6 separate regions of the Homo sapiens genome follow, and all the other regions are linked to region 2. The links are contacts of gene promoters, found by promoter capture Hi-C in human tissues and cell types (Jung and others, 2019). All regions are on one chromosome and are shown on one strand. Each heading gives the region's core, a stretch centred on a gene start or on the middle of the fragment in contact. The rest is flanking DNA. Distances are from core to core; before and after follow the strand shown. Region 1 overlaps ZNF700 (zinc finger protein 700). Region 2 holds the start of ZNF442 (zinc finger protein 442). Region 3 overlaps ZNF763 (zinc finger protein 763). Region 4 has its middle 9.1 kb from the start of ZNF69. Region 5 overlaps ZNF791 (zinc finger protein 791). Region 6 has its middle 6.2 kb from the start of ZNF700.

Evidence for each region. Contacts are between HindIII fragments. The study calls those that stand out against the background at their distance.
Region 1: a fragment that was not itself captured here is called in contact with the fragment with the promoter of ZNF442 in region 2 in 2 of the 25 tissues and cell types used here (IMR-90 fibroblasts and mesenchymal stem cells).
Region 3: a fragment that was not itself captured here is called in contact with the fragment with the promoter of ZNF442 in region 2 in 4 of the 25 tissues and cell types used here (IMR-90 fibroblasts, lymphoblastoid cells, mesenchymal stem cells and 1 more).
Region 4: a contact is called between a fragment that was not itself captured here and the fragment with the promoter of ZNF442 in region 2, in 2 of the 25 tissues and cell types used here (dorsolateral prefrontal cortex and spleen).
Region 5: a contact is called between a fragment that was not itself captured here and the fragment with the promoter of ZNF442 in region 2, in 4 of the 25 tissues and cell types used here (dorsolateral prefrontal cortex, heart left ventricle, lymphoblastoid cells and 1 more).
Region 6: a fragment that was not itself captured here is called in contact with the fragment with the promoter of ZNF442 in region 2 in 7 of the 25 tissues and cell types used here (adrenal gland, aorta, dorsolateral prefrontal cortex and 4 more).

Annotation. Positions count from the first base shown.
Region 1 is chr19:11,950,345-11,954,742 of GRCh38, forward strand. ZNF700 (zinc finger protein 700) reads left to right here. Exons shown (of 4, transcript NM_144566.3): 4 at 1-419. It also overlaps a transcript of ZNF69 not described here and the pseudogene VN2R21P. Among named protein-coding and RNA genes, the nearest start is that of ZNF763, 12 kb to the right of the region's middle. The HindIII fragment of the contact is 4,503 bases long and covers 1-3,733 here.
Region 2 is chr19:12,362,585-12,366,997 of GRCh38, forward strand. ZNF442 (zinc finger protein 442) reads right to left here and starts at 3,099. Exons shown (of 6, transcript NM_030824.3): 1 at 2,949-3,099; 2 at 2,218-2,659; 3 at 970-1,087. The coding sequence starts at 1,047. RefSeq lists a silencer at 2,633-2,812 and an enhancer at 2,913-3,012. The HindIII fragment of the contact is 16,775 bases long and covers 1-4,104 here.
Region 3 is chr19:11,979,831-11,983,636 of GRCh38, forward strand. ZNF763 (zinc finger protein 763) reads left to right here. Exons shown (of 4, transcript NM_001367172.2): 4 at 1-787. It also overlaps a transcript of ZNF69 not described here. Among named protein-coding and RNA genes, the nearest start is that of ZNF433-AS1, 5.9 kb to the right of the region's middle. The HindIII fragment of the contact is 4,224 bases long and covers 309-3,806 here.
Region 4 is chr19:11,876,547-11,880,784 of GRCh38, forward strand. No RefSeq gene overlaps it. Among named protein-coding and RNA genes, the nearest start is that of ZNF69, 9.1 kb to the right of the region's middle. The HindIII fragment of the contact is 3,977 bases long and covers 1-3,288 here.
Region 5 is chr19:12,628,030-12,631,910 of GRCh38, forward strand. It overlaps ZNF791 (zinc finger protein 791), which reads left to right. Exons shown (of 4, transcript NM_153358.3): 4 at 1-3,881. The coding sequence ends at 1,231. Among named protein-coding and RNA genes, the nearest start is that of ZNF791, 19 kb to the left of the region's middle. The HindIII fragment of the contact is 6,065 bases long and covers 1-3,881 here.
Region 6 is chr19:11,917,012-11,920,853 of GRCh38, forward strand. It overlaps a transcript of ZNF69 not described here. Among named protein-coding and RNA genes, the nearest start is that of ZNF700, 6.2 kb to the right of the region's middle. The HindIII fragment of the contact is 7,505 bases long and covers 1-3,842 here.

The DNA of each region.
Region 1 (4,398 bases), core at 232-2,731, 410 kb before region 2:
CTTTTCGATATCATGAAAGGACTCACACTGGGGAGAAACCCTATCAATGTAAGCAGTGTGGGAAAGCCTTCATTCCTTTTACTTCTTTTCAATGTCATGAAAGGACTCACACGGGAGAGAAACCCTATGAGTGTATTCTAGTTCCGTTTGATATCATGAAAGGACTTACACTGGAGTGAAACCCTATGAATGTAAGCAATGTGGGAAAGCCTTCAGATGTGCCTCGCACCTTCAACGGCATGGAAGGGTTCACACTTGGGAGAAACTCTATGAATGTAAGCAGTATGGGAAAGCCTTCAGATCTGCCAAGATTCTTTGAATACAGATAATTAATGTAAACAATTATCATAAGTATACTAACATGTTATTCTTTTTAAATAAGAAGGTATAATAAAATATCCCATTGGTTTTATGTATTAGATCAAGCTTATAATGTTACATTGTTATTATTTGGACATTGTGAGTCAGTATTACCATGTGGATAAAATGCCAGGCATCTTTTTCCTCATGGAAAGTTTACTTTTTGCACCGGGCACAGTGGCTCACGCCTGTAATCCCAGCACTTTGGGAGGCCAAGGCAGGCGGATCACGAGGTGAAGAGATCAAGACCATTCTGACCAACGTGGTGAAACCCTGTCTCTACTAAAAATACAAAAATTAGCTGGGCATGGTGGCGCGCACCGGTAGTCCCAGCTTCTCGGGAGGCTGAGGCAGGAGAATCGCTTGAACCTGGGAGGCGGAGGTTGCAGTGAGCAGAGATCACACCACTGCACTCCAGCCTGGCAACAGAGCAAGACTCCATCTCCAAAAAAAAAAAAAAAAAAGAAAGAAATTTTACTTTTCATGCTTATGTACTTATTTTTTATCTCAACCCTAATTTTGCTGGTTTTTGTTTTTTTTTTTTCTGATAGTCTCATTCTGTCGCCCAGGATAGAGTGCAGTGGCGCAGTCTCAGCTCACTGCCACCTCCGCCTCCTAGGTTCAAGTGATTCTCCTGCTTCAGCCTCCTGAGTAGCTGGGACTACAGGCGTGCCCCACCTCACCCAGCTAGTATTCGTATTTTTTTAGTAGAGATGGGATTTCACCATATTAGCCAGACTGGTCTCAAACTCCGGACCTCGTGATCTGCCCACCTCGGCTTCCTAAAGTACTGGGATTACAGACATGAGCCACTGGGCCCGGCCTCAACCCTAATTTTTCATTCACTCATTATGCCAAAAGTTATCTCATATACCTCTGAGTGCCTTCTTCCCCAAAACCACCAGTGCCATACCTGCTGTCAGCAAGGGTGTAATATACTGTAGTGGTAAATATGACCACAAGTCATAAATGACTGTGGGATGTATGAGAATTACAAGTCACATTAGTAAGAAGAGAAAAATTTTGGTCATGTTTATGATTTGAAATATGTTTTCTTTTATCACATTTAGAAATATAGTTATAAAATATTCTCTTTTTTTGTCCTGATCCATCATGGTCACTGAGGAGCATCGTCTCATATGCCCGGTATGTGACTTGTGTCTCTCCAATGGTAAAAGCCTTGGCCTTGGCCAGACACTGTGGCTCACGCCTGTAATCACAGCACATTGGGAGGCTGAGGCAGGCGGATCACCTGAGGTCAATACTTTGAGACCAGCCTGACCAATATGATGAAACCCCATCTCTACTAAAATTACAAAAATTAGCCAGGTGTGGTTGCATGCTCCTGTAATCCTAGCTAGTCAGGAGGCTGAGACAGGAGAATCGCTTGAATCTCGGGGGAGGGCAGAGGTTGCAGTGAGCCAAGATGGCGCCATTGCACTCCTGCATGGGCAACAAGAGTGAAACTCCATCTCAAAAAAAAAGACTTGGCCTTGTGATGAGGGGAGGTCAGCTCTAGACTCTTGGACCGGGTTTTGCCTTACTTATTCTCTAAAGACTAAAATATTTCCTAAAATGTATGGGCACTGTTTACTAGAAAGTACCTTAGTTAAAACATACAAATTCATTTATGCCTTATAAAGCTATATTTTTTCAAATTGTTTTACTAAGTCATAGGAAGCTAATACAGTTGTGTAAATTGTCTGAATACAAGCCTTTCTTTCTCTGATAATGTGCTGTTGATGCTAACTTGTCAACAGCCTGCTTATCTCAGCAGTGTAAAGTTAACAGCAACGTGGAAAAGTAACTTTTATATATTATGCAATGGCATAGAACAATTCAGTCACTTCCCTTAAGGTACCAATGAAGCTGCTCTTCAGAAACCCTTATTTAAAAAACACTGTCAAAATCCAGGCACCAAAGGATGCAGCATCAATCATTGACCAAACCCTATCTGTGTGTGGAGATGACATACCCAGTCTCAGATAATGCATCCTCATCAGTGAAGGGTGGAGTCATTGATTGTCAGATCACACAAAGTGACTCACAGCAGGGAAGACAGGGCAGTGGCAGAGATGGGGGCACCTGACCAGGTGCAGTGGCTCACACCTGTAATCCCAGCACTTTGGGAGGCTGAGGCAGGTGGATCACTTGAGGTCAGGAGTTGAAGACCAGCCTGGCCAACATGGTGAAACCCCATCTCTACTAAAAATACAAAAATTAGCTGGGCATCGTGGTGTGTGCCTGTAATCGCAGCTACTCAGGAGGCTGAGACAGGAGAATCACTTGAGCCTGGGAGGCAGATGTTACACTGAACTGAGATCACGCCACTGCACTCTCTAGCCTGATCAACAGAGCGAGACTCCATCACACACACACAAAAAAAATTAAAAAAGAGTTGGGTGCACCTGGATCTAACCCCTGTCTCATCCTTCTGCCTTGAAGGCCAAATGCACCCTGATACTTTTCACCAAAGAGTAGAAACACCACCATCCACTTGACCCCAAATGTGACTTTCCACAGGATGCAAGCACAGTGTTGGAATAGCCAAAGACAGTAACAATAGAAGTGCAGGGTGAGGGTGATGAACAGGACACACTGGAGAGCCTGACATTGGCCTAGACTACGGGGGTGTCTTGATCCTTCACAAAGAGCCCAAGGAGCAACCCAAAGAGACACTGGAGCACAGGCCCAAAGGGTGTTCATATGCCAGGAAGGCCACTAATTTTAGAAGGCAGTGATGTTGGTTCCTGTTGGAGTCCTGATCCTTTATAACATATGCTTTTCTGCATCTGGTTAGACAAGGAAATCTGCAATTTTTGACTTGCAGCATTTAGAAATAAGTTATTTTAGCAATCCACACACTCGTGGTTTATTCTGAACTAACTTGAGACAAACAGCTACAGATAGGGAATATCATGAGTATTTCCAAGACTAAAACTCTTCACAAAGTCAGTGGGACCCTCTCATGGGAGGGTTTTAAGACCCACAATAAAAAAGGTGGGGAAACATTGAGTGGAAAGAGGGCAGCAGGTCAGGGGCCTTCCCCAGAGGCCTAACACACCCAACATTACCCTGGATGAAAACAAATACATACCATAACATCACACTTTCTTCAATGTGTAACAGAGAAAATGAAATGTATTCAAAGGTAAGCTTTCAGAATTCCACTTTACACAATTAATAAGGTTTTAATATTACTCTGTGTTGATGTTAAGGAATTATTAAATATGAACAGCATTTTCTGGTTATATATGGAAAATACCTTGATTTATGAGGTATGAAAATGCTCATTTTTACGTATGCATGTTTTACTTTTGTGCTTTTTTTATAAAACAAGGTGAAAAAACAGGAAAAAAATTTCAGATCAAGGAAGTTAAGCAGATTAATAGGAGAAAAGTTATACAAATTTATTTAACATGTATATATGGGAGCCTTCAGAATGAAGACCCACCCAACAATAAGACAAAAACTTATATACCATTCCAGGGTAGGAAAGAATGCAGATGTGGCATGGCCAAAAAATCCCAGGTTTGATGGGTAAGTCAAGTTTAATAGCAAGACAGATTCTGCAAGAGGAAAGGAAGAAGCTTGGCTAGCAAAGCAGACCTTTTTATGCAGATGAAGGCTCCCTCAGAGAGAATAGGTGGGAAATTCTGCTTTTCATTCAGACTTTCATTTAGAATTTTAAGTAATAGAGTCAGGATTATGCTATGTTGCTTGGGTTGCTCTCTAATTGTTTGTCTCAAGCAGTCCTCCCAGCTCAGCCTCCCAAAGTGCTGGGATTCGAGGCATGAGCCACCATGCCCAGACAAGGTTTGTCTCCTTATAAAGAATTATTCATTGCTGGGCACAGTGGCTCACATCTGTAATCCCAACAATTTGGGAGGCCAAGGCAGGAGGATCACTTGAGCCCAGGAGCTCAAGACCAGCCACAGCAACATGACGATTCCCTCTCTCTACAAAAAATACAAAAAATTAGCTGGATGTGGTGGCACATACCATATCCAGGAGGCTGAGGCAGAAGGAGAACCAAAG
Region 2 (4,413 bases), core at 1,849-4,348:
GGAGGTGGGGGGCAGCCCCCGCCTGGCAGCCGCCCCCTCCGGGAGGTGGGGGGCGCCTCTGCCCGGCCGCCCCGTCTGGGAGGTGGGGGGCCCCTCTGCCCGGCCGCCACCCCGTCTGGGAGGTGTACCCAGCAGCTCATTGAGAGTGGGCCATGATGACGATGGCGGTTTTGTCGAGTGGAAGTGGGGGAAGTGTGGGGAAAGGAAAGAGAAATCAGATTGTTGTTGTGTCTGTGTAGAAAGAAGTAGACACGGGAGACTCCATTTTGTTCTGTACTAAGAAAAATTCTTCTGCCTTGGGAAAAAAAAAAAAAATTGGAGGCTGAGGAGGCAGATCACTTGAGGTCAGGAGTTCAAGACCAGCCTGGCCAACATAGTGAAACCCCGTCTCTACTAAAAATACAAAAAACAAAACAAAAAAAAAATTAGCCAGGTGTGGTGGTGCAGGCCTGTAATCCCAGCTACTCGGGAGGCTGAGATGGGAGGATCGTTTGAACCCAGAAGGCAGAGGTTGCAGTAAGCTGAGATCGCACAACTGCATTCCAGCCTGGGCAACAGTGCGAAGCTCCGTCTCAAAAAAAAAAAAAAAAAAAAAAGGAATAGATGGCTACATATGTGACCTGTTTTCTGAAATCTAACTATTTCTGGCCTCTATGGAAATACTTTCTCTATCAATCTCTAATCTTATAGTTAATAAAACGTTGAAGCTGAAAAGAGTGAGTATCTCTTTTCAATGTGACAACCTCAGGGATGGGCAGCACTGACTCGAACACAAACAAGTCTAACTCAGGTGTCAGGTCATCCCATCTCCTGGGACATTAGTCACCCCCATCTGCTCAGTAAAGTGCTCAGTGACCACCCACCACCACCCCAGGAGATACTTCACTGTGTGCTTTTCAGGCTCATGCACACCTGACCTGAATGGGAGGTTCTTGCACAACTGGAATGAGTGGGTTCTCCAGTGCTTACATATTGTTTTCTCTCTTCATTAGTCTGAGAGTCAGGAAGGAAGAGATCACTTCTGTCTTCTCCCCCAAATACAATCATTCAACTGGCTGACCAGCCGTGTGTCCCCAAGGAATGGAAACTGGGGTTGGGGAAGAACAAGGTGATTGTCCCAAGGGTTAGCTTTTTATAGAAATGGTATACCAGAATATTCCTCCCATCCCACCCAGGGCATCCAGCTGTTCTCTGTGAGGCCCCACCCCAACACCTCAGGCTGCTCACTGGGAGAAATGACCCAGGGACTGATATTCACTGGACCCTCCCAGAGACAGGGCAGCTGTGTGTATCTTGGGTCAACCCCAGGCAGTTCTGAAACAGAACCAGGAAAAGGCAGAGAGTGGGCTGAGAACACATCACCCCATAAAGTTTCTAAAGGGGACTTTCAATGTTGATTAGGTATCCGTACCCAGGGGAAAGAAAAGGAGAGACACAAAGGTTTTTTTGTTTGTTTTTTTGTTTTTTACAGTGCAGTGTCAGGTTATTCTCTGCTTCCTCACATGTGAAATGTTCAGGAACACAAATCTTTTAAGAAGCCGGCCGGGCGCGGTGGTCACGCCTGTAATCCCAGCACTTTGGGAGGCCGAGGCGGGCGGATCACCTGAGGTCATGAGTTCGAGATGAGCTTGGCCAACATGGTGAAACCCCGTCGCTACTAAAAATACAAAAAATTAGCCGGGTGTGGTGGTGGGTGCCTGTAATTCCAGCTACTCGGGAGGGTGAGACAGGAGAATTTCTTGAACCCGGGAGGCGGAGGTTGCGGTGAGCCGACATCGCACCATTGCACTCCAGCCTGGGCAACAAGAGCACAACTCCATCTCAAAAAAAAAAAAAAGAAAGAAAGAAAAAAAGAAGCCATCCATTGCTCTCTGAAAACAAAATGAAAATTAAAATACTGGGACTCTGAAATTTAGCACGGGTGGGGCGGAGGAGGGAGGAGTTCATGATGTTGCTGTGAACTGAGGAGGGAAAGTTAGCCTGCGTAAGGCTCTGGAAACCAAGGGAGTTACTACCACCCCTAGGAGGAGTTAGAATGAGGGAACAGGGTAGTGGATTTGAGACCCTGCTACCCCCATCTCTGAAAAACTCGAAGAGGAATCAGTCACCCTGGGAAGAAAAGAAGGGACTGGGGACCCCGCAGACCACAGCTCCTCCCGTGCACAAACCCCACGCAAGAATCTGGATTCTGATTGCAGTTAGATATTAACCAGGTACCCTGAGCCCCACTGCCTCGCGGGGGCCGCCTTCCTGAGAGTCAGGTCACAGAAGACACTGACCGCCGGCTTCTGCATTGTGCCTGGGGATAAGATCTCGGAGAGCTGCTCGAGTTGCCCAAGTTCTTTCTCAGATCTTGAATTCCAACGGAAAGGCTGGCGCCAAGCAGGGTGAAAACCCCACGAGGGAACCCACTCAGCAGGAGAATGCGGTTTCTTCACCTCCCGTCCCAGGATTCGCCTGTCACTTCCCCACCAACCAGCGACCCCACACTTCAGCCGCCCCTGTCCAGACCCCTAAACACCCCCATCCCCAAACCTCTCATGGAGGCGGAACTGGGGTCTTCTCTCCTCTCCCCCTATTAAACTGTTTCTGCTGCAGGCCTTGGAGTCTCGGTGCAGTGACTCGGACCGCGAACCTGTGCCGGTTACAGCCGCACAATCTGGGAAGACGCGGAGCTGTGGGCATGGAGCTGCCCCAGAGAGGGCGCGGGAGCCGGGGCCGCAGTTGCTGCGCAGAAACGGGACAGGACGCCCGGGGTCCCGGCTGCCGGCCCAGCCCCCAGCTCCCACCCCGCGGCCGAGGGGACTGAAGGCCGGCTGGGCCAGGGGAACTCGGGTCCACAGACCCCGCAGTCGCCGCGGGGACGCCCGGGTCCCGCCACAGCCGGTTCTGGCCGGTTCCAACCAGTCCTTCGCCCTGCCCCAGGACGCCGGGCCCCGCACACTCACCATTTCCCGGCTTCCGCGGTGTCCCGTGTTCTCCCCAAGGTTCCCCGCTGCCAGCATAGGACTCAGCGTGACAGTGCCTGCCACTGACCTGCCAGGGCTTCTCTCAGCTACAGAGCCAGGAGCGGGAGCTCAGAGGGGTGTAGAAAGCTCCACCCTCCTCCCGGCAGCGCGCCTGACTGGCAGTTCCCAAGAACTCGCCCCCAACACTGATTGGGTAGAGCTCCAAATTCCGCCCCCCCAGGGAACTGATTGACAGAAGAAGGATCTTACACGGCTGAGTGGAGCGAGATGAAGCGGTTCCAGACACAGCCCTTGATAGGGTGGGCTTCCTCCCTTCGCTGTGACCTGACCCCTCCCAGGGGACATTTGCATTTAAGCGGAATTTCCTGCCTGTACTCAATGGGCTCTTCCTGCTCCTTCTTCCTGGACGGGGACCCACAAGTGTGTGCTGGGAATTCGAGACTCACTGCCCAGTGGAGCCATCCCCTGGCCTCAGAGCGGTAGGGGAGGCCCAGGCCACACAAACCACACTGAAGCAGGAGGGAAGGCCTGGTGTCCTCCAGGGATCAGGAATTTAGGATGAGACTGCTGGCTCCATGGTCAAGCCTTTCTCCCACCTTATCTCCCAATCTACTCATTCTCAGACCAGAAAATAAAAACACATCAACAATGAAATAAAATTGTTAAATGCATGGAAAATCTGGAATTATATGGCAGTAATCTTCTATAAAGGAATCAAAAGAAGGGAAAAGAAAAAACCTGAATTAGTTCAGAGAAATTTCAGCCACAGTTCAGCAGGAAACCCCCTTTCAGGAGGTTAAACATATTTTCAAGCTTAGAAGGCAGATTCTGACTCCTGAAGTTGAGTCCCAGAGTGTGTAACCAGCAGCTTAGCAGCTGAGTCTCAAACCACGTTTTAAACCTTTTTTTTCTTCTTCTTTCCCTTTTCCTCTTTCCCCTCCTGATCTCAAGATAATAACTTCGAGATAAACTGCATAGATGTTACCTCTCATCTTAAAATACAGCCTCAGAATGTGCTGTGAACTTCCACTCCCTTTCCTTTCCCATACTACACTGCCATGCCTTATGCACATTTATTTTTATTTTATTTTTTTGGAGACGGAGTCTCACTCTGTCACCCAGGACAGACTGTAGTGGCTCAATCTTGGCTCACTGCAACCTCCGCCTCCCAAGTTGAAGCAATTCTCCTGCCTCAGCCTCCCGAGTAGCACACTGGACTACAGGTGCACGCTGCCATGCCCAGCTAATTTTTTTGTATTTTAGTAGAGACAGGGTTTCACCATGTTGCCCAGGCTGGTCGTGAACTCCTGAGCTCAGGCAATCCGCCGGCCTCGGCCTCCCAAAGTGTTAGGATTACAGGCGTGAGCCACCACGCCTGGCCTGTGCACATTTATTTACCTAAATACTTATTAAGCACACACCATGCTCTCTTATTTGGTCATAT
Region 3 (3,806 bases), core at 1,171-3,670, 380 kb before region 2:
CAAGAACCTTCGAATTCATGAAAGGACACAAACACACGTAAGAATGCACTCTGTAGAAAGACCTTATAAATGTAAGATATGTGGGAAAGGCTTTTATTCTGCCAAGTCATTTCAAATACCTGAAAAATCTTACACTGGAGAGAAACCCTATGAGTGTAAGCAATGTGGGAAAGCCTTTATTTCTTTCACTTCTTTTCGATAACATGAAAGGACTCACACTGGAGAGAAACCCTATGAGTGTAAGCAATGTGGAAAAACCTTCAGATCTACCTCACACCTTCGAAAACATGGTAGGACTCACACTGGATAGAAACCAAAGCAGGTGAATCACCTGAGGTCAGGAGTTCAAGACTGGCCTGATCAATATGATGAAACCCCTGTCTCTACTAAAACTACAAAAATTGGCCAGGCGTGGTGGCCTGCTTCTGTAATCCTAGCTAGTTGGGAGGCTGGCACAGGAGAATCGCTTGAATCTGGGGGGCAGAGGTTGCAGTGAGCCAAGATTGTGCCATTGCACTCTAGCCTGGGCAACAGGAGCAAAACTCCGTCTCAAAAAAAAAAAAAAAAAAGACTTGGCCTTGTGGTGAGGGGATGTCAGCTCTAGACTCCTGGAGCTGTTTTTGCCTTATTCTCTAAAGACTAAAATATTTCATAAAATGTATGGGTGCTGTTTACCAGAAAGTACGTTGGGTAAAACATAGAAATTCATTTATACCTTAGAAAGCTATTTTTTTCAGGTTGGTTTAGTGAGTCACAGGAAGCTAATAAATTACAATAATAATGTAAATTGTCTAAATACAGCCTTTTCTTTCTCTGATAATGTGCTGTTGATACTAACTTGTCAACAGCCTGTTTATTTCAGCCATGTAAAGTTAATGGCAACATGGAAAAGTCACTTTTATATGTTATGCAATGGCATGGAAAAATTCATTTTCATTAAGGTTCCAATGAAGCTGCTCTTCAGAAACGCTTATTTAAAACTCCCTAAGGTCAAAGTCCAGGCATCACGGGATGCAGCATCAATCACTGACCAAACCCTGTCTGTGTGTGGAGATGACATACCCAGTCCCAGATAATGTATCCACATCAGTGAAGGGTGGAATCATTGATTGTCAGATCACACAGCATGATTCACAGCAGGGAAGACAGGGCAGTGACAGAGGTGGGGGCACCTGAGCAGGTACGGTGGCTCACACCTGTAATCTTAGCACTTTGGGAGGCCAAGGAGAGTGGATCACTTGAGGTCAGGAGTTCAAGACCAGCCTGGCCAACATGGTGAAACCTTAAGAAATAGATAAATTAGCTGGGCATCGTGGTGTAATCCCTGTAATCCCAGATACTCAGGAGGCTGAGGCAGGAGAATCGCTTGAGCCTGGGAGGTGGTTGTTACACTGAACTGAGATCACACCATTGCACTCTCCAACCTAGTCGACAGAGCAAGACTCTGTCTCAAAATGAAAAAAACAAGAGTTGGGTGCACCTGAATCCAACCCCTGCCTTATCCTCCCTTGAAGGCCAAATACACCCTGACACTTTTAACCAAACAGTAGAAACAACACCATCCACTTGACCCCAAATGTGACTTTCCACAGGATGCAAGCACAATGTTGGAATGGCCAATGACAGTGACAATGAAAGTGCAGGGTGAGGGTGATGAACAGGACACACTGGAGAGCCTGACATTGGCCTAGACTATGGAGGTGTCTTGATGTTTCACAAAAAGCCCAAGGACCAACCCAAAGAGACACTGGAGCACAGGCCCAAAGGGTGTTCATATGCCAGGAAGGCTACTAATTTTAGAAGGCAGTGATGGTGCCTGTTTGAGTCCGGATGCTTTATAACTTCTGCTTTTCTGCATCTGCTTAGACAAAGAAATCTGCAGTTTTTGAGTTTCAGTGTTTAGAAGTAAGTTATTTTAGCAATCTACACACTTGTGGTTTATTCTGAGCTAACTTCAGACACACAGCTACAGATAGGGAATATCACGAGTATTTCCAAGGCTAAAAGTCTTCATGAAGTCAGTGGGACCCTCTCATGGGAGGGTTTTAAGACCCACAATCAAAAAGGTGGGGAAACATTAGAGTGGAAAGAGGGCAGCAGGTCAGGGGCCTTCCCCAGAGGTCTAACACACCCAACATTATTACCCTGGATGAAAACCAATACATATCATAACACCACACACACTCTTCAATGTTTCACAGACAAAATGAAATGTATTCAAAGCTAAGCTTCCAGAATTCCACTTTACACAATAAGGTTTTAATATCACTCTGTGTTGATGTTAGGCAATTACTAAATAGCATTTTCTGGTTATCTATGGAAAATACCTTGATTTCTGGGATATGAAAATGCTCATTTTTAGATATGCTTGTTTTTGAACTTTTTTTAATAAAATAAGGTGAGAAAACAGGAAAAAAATTTTCAGATCAAGGAACTTAGGCGAATTAATAGGAGAAAAGTCATACAAATTTATTTAACATGTATATATGGGAGCCTTCAGAATGAGGACCCACCCAACAATAAGACAAAAAAGCTTACATACCATTCTGAGGCCAGGAAAAATGCAGACTTGGCATGGCCAAAAAAATTCCAGGTTTGGTGGGGAAGTCATTTTTAATGGCAAGACAGATTATGCTAAAGGAAAGGAAGAAGCTTGGCTAGCAAAGGAGACCTTGTTATGTAGATGAAGGCTCCCTCAGAGAGAATAGGTGGGAAATGCTGCTTTTCAGACTTTTATTTAGAATTTTAAGTAATAGAGTCAGGATTATGCTGTGTTGCCCAGGCTGTTCTCTAATTCTTTGTCTCAAGCAGTCCTCACAGCTCAGTCTCCCAAAGTGCTAGGATTCCAGGCATGAGTCACCATGTCCAGACAGGGTTTGTCCCCTTGTAAAGAATTATTCATTGCTGGGCACAGTGATTCACAGTGACGTCTGCCTGGCATCTGCCTGTAAAGGAAGCATGGCACCAGCATCTGCTCAGCTTCTGGTGAAGGCCTCAGGAAGCTTTCAATCATAGCGGAAGGTGAACGGGGAGCAGGCAGTCACATGGCGAAAGCAGGAGTGAGACAGAGAGAGTGGTGTAGGAAGGTGCAGCTCACTAGAACTCACTGATTATCACAAAGACAGCAACAAGCCATGAGAGAAACAAGCCATAGGTCCCCCTGACCCAAACAACTCCCATCAGGACTCACCTCCAACACTGGGGATTGCAGTTCCTCATGACATTGGGTGGGAACATACATTCAAACTATCACGTGACAATATTACTTCCCTCAGTTTATTAAAGAACAAGTGTTTCTAGCTCTTCAGTGCTGTTCAGTGATTTGGAATATGGACAGGGAAAACTTTGATAAATCAGGAATGGCTGCAGTGAGCCATGAACATAGAATCTAATAATTTTTAAACTAATTTTATAATAGCTGGGCATGGTGGCTCATGCCTGTGGTTCTAGCACTTTGAGAGGCCAAGGTGGGTGGATGACTTGAACCCAGGAGTCTGAGAACAGCCTGGGCAACATGGTGAAACCCTATCTCTACAAACTTTTTAGCCAGGATGGTGACATGCACCTGTAATCCCAGCTACTTGAGAGGCTGCAGTAGGAGAATCACCTGAACCCAAGAGGTTGAGGCTGCAGTGAGCTGTGATCATGCCATTGCACTCCAGCCTGGGTGATAGAGTGAGACCCTCATCTCCAAAAAAAACCCCATAATTTTATAATCAGGACTATTTTTTATGGATCTGTATTTTAAGAAAAAAATGGAAAGACCAGATCATTGAAGATCAGTACAAAAATCTCAGGAATAATCT
Region 4 (4,238 bases), core at 50-2,549, 490 kb before region 2:
GCCATTCTGAAATTGGACCTCACTCCTTTGTGACTCTTGCTCCCCATCTGCTATGTGATAAAGTCCTGTCTGATTACATCGTCTCCAAAGCCTCTTTTTGGACTTCTGTTTACCCCTTGGCATGCCCTGCATTTACTCTCTTCAAAATATATACTTAGAGGCCGGGTGCGGTGGCTCACGCCTGTAATCTCAGTACTTTTGGATGCTGAGGCAGGAGGATCCCTTGTGCCCAGGAGTTTAAAACCAGCCTGGGTCACATAGGGAGACCCTGTCTCAAAAACAAAATTTATAGTTACAAGTCCTAAACCCCAACAGGGTCATATTTGGACACGGACCTTTTAGGAGATCACATACATTTATAAAGGAGGGCTCTCACAATGGGATTAGTAAGAGAGAGAGAGAACTCTGCCTCTCCAGCATGTAAGGACAAAGCAAGAAGGCATCTAGCTGCAAGCCAGGAAGATAGCCTTCACTAGGAACAAAATTGTTGGCAGCAAGATTTCAGACTTCCCAAGCTTCAGAACTGTGAAAAACAAATTTCTGCTGTTTAAGAAACTGAGTCCATGGTACTTTGTTATACTAGCCTGAGCTAAGTCACCCCAAGAGTCCTCACATTAACCATATACTGTCGTACAAGTGCTGCATTTGGATCTACCTGTAATGTCTCCAAATCTACTTTTCCTTTTGGACCCATTGTGAGAACAGGTTTGCCTCATAGACAACTGCTGGTGATATTAGTGATAGCCTACCAACTAGGGACTAAAAAGAAAGTTTTTCTTTTTTTTTTTTCTTGCTTTTTTTTTTGAGATGGAGTTTTTGCTCTGTTACCCAGGCTGGAGTGCAATTATGCAATCTCGGCTCACTGCCAGTTCTGACTCCCAGGTTCAAGTGATTCTCCTGCCTCAGCCTCCCAAGTAGCTGGGTTTACAGGTGCGTGCCACCACATCCAGATAATTTTTGTACTGTTAGTTAGAGATGGGGTTTCAACATGTTGGCCAGGTGGTTCTCGAACTCTTGACCTCAGGTGATCCACCTGCCTTGGCCTCCCAAAGCACTAGGATTACATGCATAAACCACCACACTCGGCCTCTCATTCATATGTGTGTGTATATTCTGTTTTTAATAAAAATAGAGACTAGGCCTATGTTGCCCCGTGTGGTCATAGCCCAAACTTTTGGGCTCAAGCGATTTACTCACCTCAGCCACCCAAAATGCTGGGATTAAGGCATGAGAAACTGTGCCAGGGCAAATGAAAGAAACTTAGTGGGAGGCCAGGCACGGTGGCTCACACCTGTAATCCCAGCACTTTGTGGGGCTGAGGCGGGTGGATCACCTGAGCTCAGGAGTTCAAGACCAGCCTGGACAACATGGTGAAACCACATCTCTACTAAAAATACAAAAAAATTAGCTGGGCATGGTACTCCCATTCTCACAGTCATGCAAAGGCTCTTTCTTAAGGATTCCACCTGCTGGAAAGCATTATATACTGCCTGCACTGACTCAAGAGTGTCTGGTTTCATCTCCATGTCATAATTACAACCACAATCCTAAAGGGACTGATTTACCACACTGTGGTTGCCGTAAGTCCCAAATTGTACCCTCAGCAGCAACTATATCATCCCAAGTCACAGCTCTACCCTCTAAAGGTGTGCCTGAGGCTTGTGCCTGCCATACTAACACATTAACCTGTCCAAAGCTTCCTTCAGAGCTGTGTCCCAGTCCCAAAGTGCCCCTTTCTAAAACATTGGGCTAAGTGTCAGATAAATGCTCTCCAATAATCCAAAGACCAACAAATGTCTGGATTTTTTTTCTTAAGAGAAATAGTATGGCTCTGTTTCCCAGGCTGGAGTGCAGTGGTGGGATCATAGCTCACTGTAGAAACTCGGGCTCAAGGGATCCTCCTGCCTCAGCCTCACAAGTAGCTGGGAGTAAAGGCACATGCCACTATGCCCGGCTGTTTTTAAATTTTTTGTACAGATGGAGTCTCACTCTATTGCCCAGGCTGTTCTTGAACTCCAAGGCTCAAGTGATCCTCCCACCTCAGCCTCCCAAAGTGCTGAGATTACAGTTATGAACCAATGCACCCAGAACTCAAAAAGGAATATTTATAAGGGAAAATATCTAATGTTCAAATTGTTATGTATAGAGCAGTTAACGGGAACTATCATTTAGGGTCTATGGGATTCTAGGACACTAGGTATGAAACAAATATGAGGAAGGTCAGAGAACAAGCTGACTTGATGATTAATGCTGAAGGTGCCGCAAGCTTGGTTTAAGTTTTCCTCCTCCCATCCTCCCTGATGAATTTGATAAAGTTTAAAGGGATGGTTTCACCGGGGGCTTTTTCCACTGACTGCAAGGAGGTGATCCCGCTTGGTAAATCTTCAGTAGGCCAAGCCTCTTACGTGGCTAGAATGATCCAGTCCATAAGGAAATGTCACCACCTGCTGTATTTTACACTTTGACCATCAAAGGGGTACAGGGTTTCCCCAGGGAGTTTGGTGGGATTTTAATTTTTTGTTTGTTTGTTTTGAGACAGTGTCTTGCTGAAGCGCAGTACCCAATTATAGCTCACAGCAGCCTCAAACTTTGGGGTTCAAGTGACTCTCCTGTCTCAGCCTCCTGAGTAGCTGAGACTGTAGGTACACACACTTCTCCTTGGTAATTAAAAATTTTTTATGGAGATGGGAGGGTCTCACTTCACGGCTCAGGGTGGTCTCCAATCTCGGGCTTCAAGCGATCCTCCCACTTTGGCCTCCCAAAATGTTGGGATTACAGGCGTGAGCCATGGCACCCGGCCTCCCAGGCTGTTGTTTGAAGGTCTTTGCAATCTCTAAGAGTTCTGCAGCAATTTATTCCCTGACAGTGAGAGTCTCATCCTTTGACCCCATTTTGCCGCAGTAGCTGAACGTTCACTTTTCTTTCCATAAGGGGGCGAGCTTGCCAGTGACCCTAATCCCTCTCCTCATCGATGACTTCTTTGTCATCAGAGCCTTCCTCTTCATAAATTCCCACGGAATCCAAGTTTTCACGTCCCAATCGGGCTTAGTTATGATAGCCACAGGCCCACACCAGCTGCCACAGCACCCCTGTCCCATGGAAACCGCCTGACTCTCTTCTCCCCAAGCGTCCTGTCCCAGGAGCCCCCATCATCTCTGCTCCCCCGGGCTCCAGGCCCTAGAGCCGCGCTGCTGCAGAGCCCGGTTCCCAGGGCTGCTCCCTCCATATATCCACATTCATCTCCAGCTCTCCACCCTCTCTCCAACCAGCCAGGCCCGGAGGTACTGCAGTGTCACTGAACGTGCGTCCCTCAGCTGCCACCTCCACCACGATCTGGAAATCTTTTAAATGCACTTAAGTTATCTTAGAATTTTCCTTCCCCACTTTATACATAAACATAGGAGGAGAGCAGGGACTCTGCTGGTGTCTTATTCACACAATGGGATTGAGGGTGTTTGTGTCATGGAACTGATCAATGGGGTGAGAAGTAGCTGAATAACCTGCAGGGGGCAGCAGAGCCCGAGGCCGGTGACTCAACGCTGAGGCCAGTGTGGAGCCTGCAAAGGAAGGGAAAGGAGCCTTTCCTGGGGGCTTCCGGGCAGCCCGCCCTCCCCTACAGGTGGCCTCCAATTGCTCAGAGCAGCTCCAGAAGGAGTGCGGATTCCGAGAAGCTGAAGAGCCCTGGAAAGCAGAAGACCCACATGCACACGTATGTGTGGGGGTTCTGTCCTTTCTGGTGTTGTACCTCTGGAGCCTGGGGCTGTCTTCTGGGCAGGGTTTGGGGTTTGACATGCATGGGGCCACTGGGGTCAGATTTGTAAGATACAGTGAATTTCTTTAAGTTTTTCTTTAAAGATTTAGCCTGCTAACTTCCTCGTCTTTTGTTCTCAAACTCAACTTTCCTGTTCCTCCTTGCCCCTAGTTACTTTAAAACAGCCTACCCCGTTCCCATCAGCTCTAATCAATAACTCACATCTGTTCCCTTGGTTACCTGTACCCATTGTTCCCCCAAAACTGCACATCTCACATGCTCCACCTCTGTACCTCACATCCCCCTCCCCTTCTATATTTAGAAAAATATGTACAAGCAGCCAATCGGGTCAGCTCAGACTGTGCGGTCCGACCCCAGCCCATGGGGGAGTAACACAGAGATAGGGACCGCATTAAGGATAAAAACCTCCTGGTCTCCTTTGTTCTCTGTGCTCTTGTGATCTTGATTGACGTGAGTGGCACCCTTC
Region 5 (3,881 bases), core at 829-3,328, 260 kb after region 2:
AACCTTCATATATCACCAGCCCTTTCAAAGACATGAGCGGACTCACATTGGAGAAAAACCCTATGAATGTAAGCAATGTGGAAAAGCTCTTAGTTGTTCCAGTTCGCTTCGAGTTCATGAAAGGATTCACACTGGAGAAAAGCCCTATGAATGTAAACAATGTGGGAAAGCCTTCAGTTGTTCCAGTTCTATTCGAGTACACGAAAGAACTCACACTGGAGAGAAACCCTATGCATGTAAGGAATGTGGGAAAGCCTTCATTTCCCACACAAGTGTTCTAACACACATGATAACACACAACGGAGATAGACCTTATAAATGCAAAGAATGTGGAAAGGCATTCATTTTTCCCAGTTTTTTACGAGTACATGAAAGAATTCACACTGGAGAGAAACCCTATAAATGTAAACAATGTGGTAAAGCCTTCAGATGTTCCACCTCCATTCAAATTCATGAAAGAATTCATACTGGAGAGAAGCCCTATAAATGTAAAGAATGTGGGAAATCTTTCAGTGCACGCCCAGCCTTTCGAGTACACGTGAGAGTGCATACTGGAGAGAAACCCTATAAGTGTAAAGAATGTGGGAAAGCCTTTAGTAGAATCAGTTACTTTCGAATACATGAAAGGACTCACACTGGAGAGAAACCCTACGAATGTAAAAAATGTGGGAAAACTTTCAATTATCCTCTAGATTTGAAAATCCACAAGAGAAATCACACTGGAGAAAAACCCTATGAGTGTAAGGAATGTGCAAAAACCTTCATTTCTCTTGAGAACTTTCGAAGACACATGATCACCCACACTGGAGACGGACCTTATAAATGTAGGGACTGTGGGAAGGTGTTCATTTTTCCTAGTGCGTTACGAACACATGAAAGAACTCACACTGGAGAGAAACCCTATGAATGTAAACAATGTGGAAAAGCCTTTAGTTGTTCTAGTTACATTCGGATACATAAAAGAACTCACACTGGGGAGAAACCTTATGAATGTAAGGAATGCGGGAAGGCCTTTATTTATCCCACAAGCTTTCAAGGACACATGAGAATGCATACTGGAGAGAAACCCTATAAATGTAAAGAATGTGGGAAGGCCTTTAGTCTTCACAGTTCCTTTCAAAGACATACAAGAATTCACAATTATGAGAAACCTCTTGAATGTAAGCAATGTGGAAAAGCCTTCAGTGTGTCCACATCCTTAAAAAAACATATGAGAATGCACAATCGATAGAAACTCTATAAATGTGAGAAATAGGAGAAAGTTTTCAATTCTAACAGATGCTTTCAAAGTTGTGAAAATTCCCACTGAAGAGAGAAATCCTGTCAATGTAAGTAATATAGAAAGCGAGATACAAGATGATTCATGTATAGTCAGGTACCACATAATCATGTTTCAGTCAGCAATGGACCATATAGGTTGGTAGCCCCATAAGATTATATAACACCTAAAACATTTCTATCAACCGCAATTTAGTAGCAGTAGTAACACCATAGTGCAGCACATTATTTAAGTGTTTATGGTGCTGGTGTAAACGTGCTGCACTTTCAGTTGTATAAAAGTACAAGACAGCGGCCGGGGACGGTGGCTCACGCCTGTAATCCCAGCACTTTGGGAGGCCAAGGCGGGCGGATCACGAGGCCAGGAGATCAAGACCATCCTGGCTAACACGGTAAAACCCCATCTCTACTAAAAATACAAACAATTAGCCGGGCGTGGTGGTGGGCGCCTGTAGTCCCAGCTACTTGGGAGGCTGAGGCAGGAGAATGGCATAAACCCAGGAGGCCGAGCTGACAGTGAGCTGAGATCCGGCCAACAGAGCGAGACTCTGTCTCAAAAAAAAAAAAAAAAAAAAAGTACAACACAGCTGGGCATGGTCACACCTGTGATCCCAACACTGGGAGACTAAGGCAGTAGGATTGCTTGATGCCAGGACTACTCTGGTCAACCTAGTGAGACCCTGTCTCTACAAAAAATAAAAACATTTTCTAAGTGTGGTAGCACACCCTGTAGTCCCATCTACATGGGAGGCTGAGGCAGGAGGATTGCCTGAGCCCAGGAGTTCAAGGCTACAGTGAACCAAGATCACGTGATGGCAGTCCAGCATGGGTGACAGTGAGACTGTATCAAAAAAAAAAAAAAAAAATTGGCTGGGCACAGTGGCTCATACCTGTAATCCCAGCACTTTGGGAGGCTGAGGTGGGAGAATCAGTTGAGGTCAGGAGTTCAAGACCAGCCTGGTCAACATGATGAAACCCTGTCTCCATTAGAAATACGAAAATTAGCTGGGCGTTCTGGTGTGCCTGTAGTCCCAGCTACTTGGGAGGCCAAAGCAGGAGAATCGCTTGAACCCGGGAGGTGGAGATTGCAGTGAGCTGAGATCTACCACTACACTCCAGCCTGGGTGACAGAGCGAGACTCCGTCTCGAAAAAAAAAAAATTACAGCACAGATGTGCAATATATACTTGATAATAAATGGCTAAGTTACTGGTTTATATATTTACAATCCTGTTTTAGAATGTATTCCTGTGTTTTTTTAACAGTAAGACAGTCTCAGGCAGGTCCTTAAGGAGATATTCCCGGAAAAACTTTGTTATGATAGGCGATGACGGCTCCATGTGCAGGACTGCCCCTGAACGTATTCTGGCGGGACAAAACATGGAGGCAGAAGACAATGATATTGATGATCCTCACCCCGTGTAGTCCTACACTAATGTGTGTTTGTGTCTTAGTTAGTCTTTAACAAAAATAGTTTAAAAAAATTTAATAGAAAAAGCTTATAGAATATGGACATAAAATATTTTTGTACAGCTGTACAATGTGTTTTAAGCTAAATTATTACAAAGTTTTTAAAAATAAGTTTATAAAGAAAATAATGTACAGTAAGTTAAGGTTTATTCATTATTGAGGAAAAAATGTTTTTATGAATGTAGTGTAGTCCAAGTGTACAGTGTTTATAAATTCTCCATTAGTGTACAGTAACATCCTGGGCCTTCGCATTCACTCACCACTCAACTGACTCACCCAGAGCAACTTCTAGTCCTGCAAGCTATGTTCATGGAGTGTCCTATGCAGGTGCATCCTTTTTTATCTTTTATACTGCATGTTTACTCTGTGTATTTTCTGTGTTTAGACTCATAAATACTTAACATTTTGTTACAATTTCCTACAGTGTTCAGTACAACAACATGTTGTATGGTTTATAGCCTAGTAGCAATAGACTGTACCATATAGTCTAGATGTGTTGTAGCTATACCATCTAGATTTGTGTAAGTTCACTTTGTGATGTTTGTACCATGAGGAAATCACCTACAACACGTTTCTCAGAACATATACCCATGATTAAGCAATCTCTGCCTGTAAAATGCTCCAGAAAATTCACACCATGATATAAATTCATCACACACGATATAAAAGTTAAGGCAAGGCATGGTGGCTCATGCCTGTAATCCCAGCACTTTGGGAGGCCAAGGCAGGCAGATCACCTGAGGTCAGGAGTTCGAGACCAGCCTGGCCAAGACGGTGAAACCCCATCTCTACTAAAAATACAAAAATTACCTGAGCGTGGTGGCATGCACCTGTAATTCCAGCTACTTGGGAGGCTGAAGCAGGAGAATCATTTGAACCTGGGAGGTGGAGGCTGCAGTGAGCTGAGATTGTGCCACTACACTCCAGCCTGGGCAACAGAGCAAGACTCCATCCCACACACCAAAAAAAAGTTAAAAATTTTTTATCACTGGCTCATTCTTCAAGTACATCTCTGGACTATGAATTGTAACTTAACTACTTTTCCAAGAAGTCTTGGAAGTGAGATAATTCTGTAAGTACTCTTTAAGCAGTGGTCAAAAGTTTAAAAGGTTGTGTTTTCTCATTAAATCAGTT
Region 6 (3,842 bases), core at 132-2,631, 450 kb before region 2:
TAGTTCTATCAAATTATGGAACTTGAGTAAGGTGTTGTACAGGACCCAGGTCTAGATGCAGTTGCTGAGAAGTACAGGTGGCCCCTGGGGCTTTGACTTGCATCTGCCAAGTGGGGCTGTGTTGGGTGAGCCAGGAACTCATGGAGTCTCTGCTAACTCTGGGTGGCTTCTGAATTGCATGGTTACATAACTGCTTAGTGCTGGAGAATTGATTGGTGTTCAGCAAGCACCACACATTTGATGTCAGGCAAAAAGACAGCATAGGTCAGAACCTTCCACTGACTCACAGTGAGCGAGTGGTCTTTGGTGGGCATTGAGACCCTGGTGGAAGGACTGTGTCCACACTGTGGGGAGGGGCCAGCAGGGTGTGTGTGGAATTCCCAGAAGTAATTTTCTGACTGCTCACATTTCCTTCACACACTACCTAGGAGTGGGCCAGCCTGGCCTGTGTCTCCACGGTCCAAGTGGTTCCTAAGCTTGAAAATGTGTAACTATTGGAGTGTGGGTTTCCTTGTGAGCTGTGGGTGAGGCAGGCTGCCTACCTGAGCTGCCTCCCTTTTGTTTTTTTACAGAATCTTGCTGCCATGGAATTGCTCTTTCCCCACGCATCTGAGAATTTATTTATTTGTTTGTTTGTCTATTTTTCAGATAGAATCTCACTCTGTGGCCAAGGCTGGATCAGTGGCGTGATCTCGGCTCACTGCAACTTGCCTCCCAGATTCTCCTGGCTCAGCCTCCTGGGTAGCCGGGACTGCTGGCACAAGCCACCACACCCTGCTTTTTTTTTTTTTTTTTTGAGACAGTCTTGCTCTGTCACCCAGGCTGGAGTGCAGTGGCAGGATCTCGGCTCACTGCAACCTTTGTCTCCTGGGCTCAAGCAACTGTCCTACCTCAGCCTCCTGAGTAGCTGGGATTATAGGCACCTGCAACCACACTCAGCTAATTTTTGCATTTTTAGTAGAGACGGTTTCACCATGTTGTCCAGGCTGGTCTCGAACTCCTGACCTCAGGTGATCCACCCGCCTCGGCCTCCCAAAGTGCTGAGATTACAGGCATGAGCCACCATGCCCAGCCTATCTCTTGATCTTATTGACAATGCTTTTCTTGTTTTTATTCCTAACTGGAAATACAACACAAAGTTTTACACATTGGGAAATAATTGCTGGGTTGTAGATTATGGGTAAATTCAAATTTACTAGGAAATGTCAGTACAGTATGAATGTAACTTATGAATTAACCATCTCACCTTTCATGCACGTGCCTTTATTCTTGTGATTTGCCAACACTTTGAATTATCTAACTCACTTTTCGTCGCCCATTTACTCTTAAACAGAATCTCTGTGTGATTATTTATTGCTTTTTATTTGTTGCCATTGGTTGAGCATTTTTCTTATATAATCTTTCATCTTCTGTGTAGCAGTATCCAGTCATCCTCTTACATTTGACTAATTTGTAGTTATCTCTCTTTTTCTCCTCGTTTTCTTTTATTTTAATTTGAGACATCCTTGCTCTGTAGCCCAGCTGGAGTGCAGTGTTCTGGTCACTCACTGCAGCATCAAGCTCCTGGGCTTGAGCAATCCTCCCACCTCGGCTTTCTGCCCAGCTAATTTTCAAAAATTTTTTGTAGAGACAAGGGTGTCACGGTTTTGCCCAGGCTGGTCTCGAACTCCCGGGCTCAATCAATCCTCTTGCCTCGGCCTCCCAAAGTGCTAGGATTGCAGACATGATCCACCATGCTCAGCAATTAGGGTTTTTTTTTTAAAACCAAGATATCTGTACATGTTTCTGACAAATATTTTATTTAAAATCTTTAACAACTGCATACTAACCAAGGTTATTCTGTTTTTCATTTTCTGTTTTCCATTTTCATTATGATTACTTGTTTTTCTTTTTTTTTTTTTTGAGACGGAGTCTCGCTGTGTCGCCCAGGCTGGAGTGCAGTGGTGCGATCTCCGCTCACTGCAACCTCCGCCTCCCGGGTTCACGCCATTCTCCTGCCTCAGCCTCCTGAGTAGCTGGGACTACAGGCGCCCGCCACCACGCCCGGCTAATTTTTTGTATTTTTAGTAGAGACGGGGTTTCATCGTGTTAGCCAGGATGGTCTCAATCTCCTGCCCTCGTGATCCGCCTACCTTGGCCTCCCAAAGTGCTGGGATTACAGGCGTGAGCCACCGCGCCTGGCCCCTTGTTTTTCTTTTTTATTCTCATTTTTTCCTAGATAATTACAATACTTTTCCATGTAGTGGCTCTGGCAGCATTTTCATCCTTCATGCAATCATACAGCTACCTCGATGTCCCTTCTCTCTGCCATTCTGAAATTAGACCTCACTCCTTTGTGACTCTTGCTCCCCATCTGCTATGTGATAAAGTCCTGTCTGATTACATCGTCTCCAAAGCCTCTTTTTGGGCTTCTGTTTACCCCTTGGCGTGTCTTGTATTTACTCTCCTCAAAATATATACTTGGAGGCCAGGTGTGGTGGCTCACTCCTGTAATCCCAGTATTTGGGAGGCCGAGGCATGAGGATCCCTTGAGCCCAGGAGTTTAAAACCAGCCTGGGCCACACAGGGAGACCCTGTCTCAAAAACAAAACTTATACTTGCAAGCCCTAAACCCCAACATGGTCATATTTGGACACGAACCCTTTAGGAGATCACATACATTTATAAAGGAGGGCTCTCACAATGGGATGAGTAAGAAGAGAGAGAGAACTCTGTCTCTCCAGCATGTGAGGACACAGCAAGAAGTCATCTAGCTGCAAGCCAGGAAGACACTCTTCACTAGGAACAAAATTGCTGGCAGCAAGATGTTGGACTCCCGAAGCTCCAGAACTGTGAGAAAAAAATTCTGCTGTTTAAGAAACTGAGTCCATGGTATTTTGTTATACCAGCCTCAGCTAAGTCATCCCAAGAGTCCTCACATAAATCATATACTATCGTATATGATATCGTGCTGCATTTGGATCTACCTGGAATGTCTCCAAATCTTCTACTTTTCCTCTTGGACCCATTGTGAGAATAGGTGTGCTTCATAGGCAACTACTGGTGATAGTAGTGATAGCCCATAACGACTTGGGACAAAAAAGGAACTTTTACTTTTTTTTTTTTTTTTTTCTTCCTGAGATGGAGTTTGTGCTCTGTTGTCCAGGCTGGAGTGCAATGGCGTGATCTCAGCTCACTGCAACTTCTGCCTCCTGGGTTCAAGCGATTCTACTGCCTCTGCCTCCAGAATAGCCAGGATCACAGGTGTGCACTACCATGTCCGGATAATTTTTGTATTGGTAGTTAGAGACAAGGTTTCACCATGTTGGCCAGGCTGGTCTTGAACTCTTGATATCAGGTGATCCACTCACTTTGGCCTCCCAAAGTTCTTGGATTACAGGCGTGAGCTACTATGCTCGCCCTGTTTTATGTATATAAATATGTGTGTGTGTATTTCTCTTTTTAATAAAATAGAGACTAGTTCTCACTATGTTGCCCAAGGTGGTCATAGGCCAAACTTTTGGGCTCAAGCAATCTACCTGCCTCGACCACTCAACGTGCTGGGATTAAGGCATGGGAAACTGTGCCAGGCCAAATGAAAGAGACTTAGTGGGAGGCTGGGCGCGGTGGTTCACACCTGTAATCCCAGCACTTTGGGAGGCTGAGGGGGGTGCATCACCTGAGCTCAGGAGTTCAAGACCAGCCTGGACAACGTGGTGAAACCGCATCTCTACCAAAAATACAAAAAATTAGCCGGGCATGGTAGTCCCATTCTCACAGTCACAGAAAGGTTCTTTCTTAAGGATTCCACCTGCTGGAAAGCATTATATACTACCAGAACTTGTTCAATTCAAGAGTGTCTG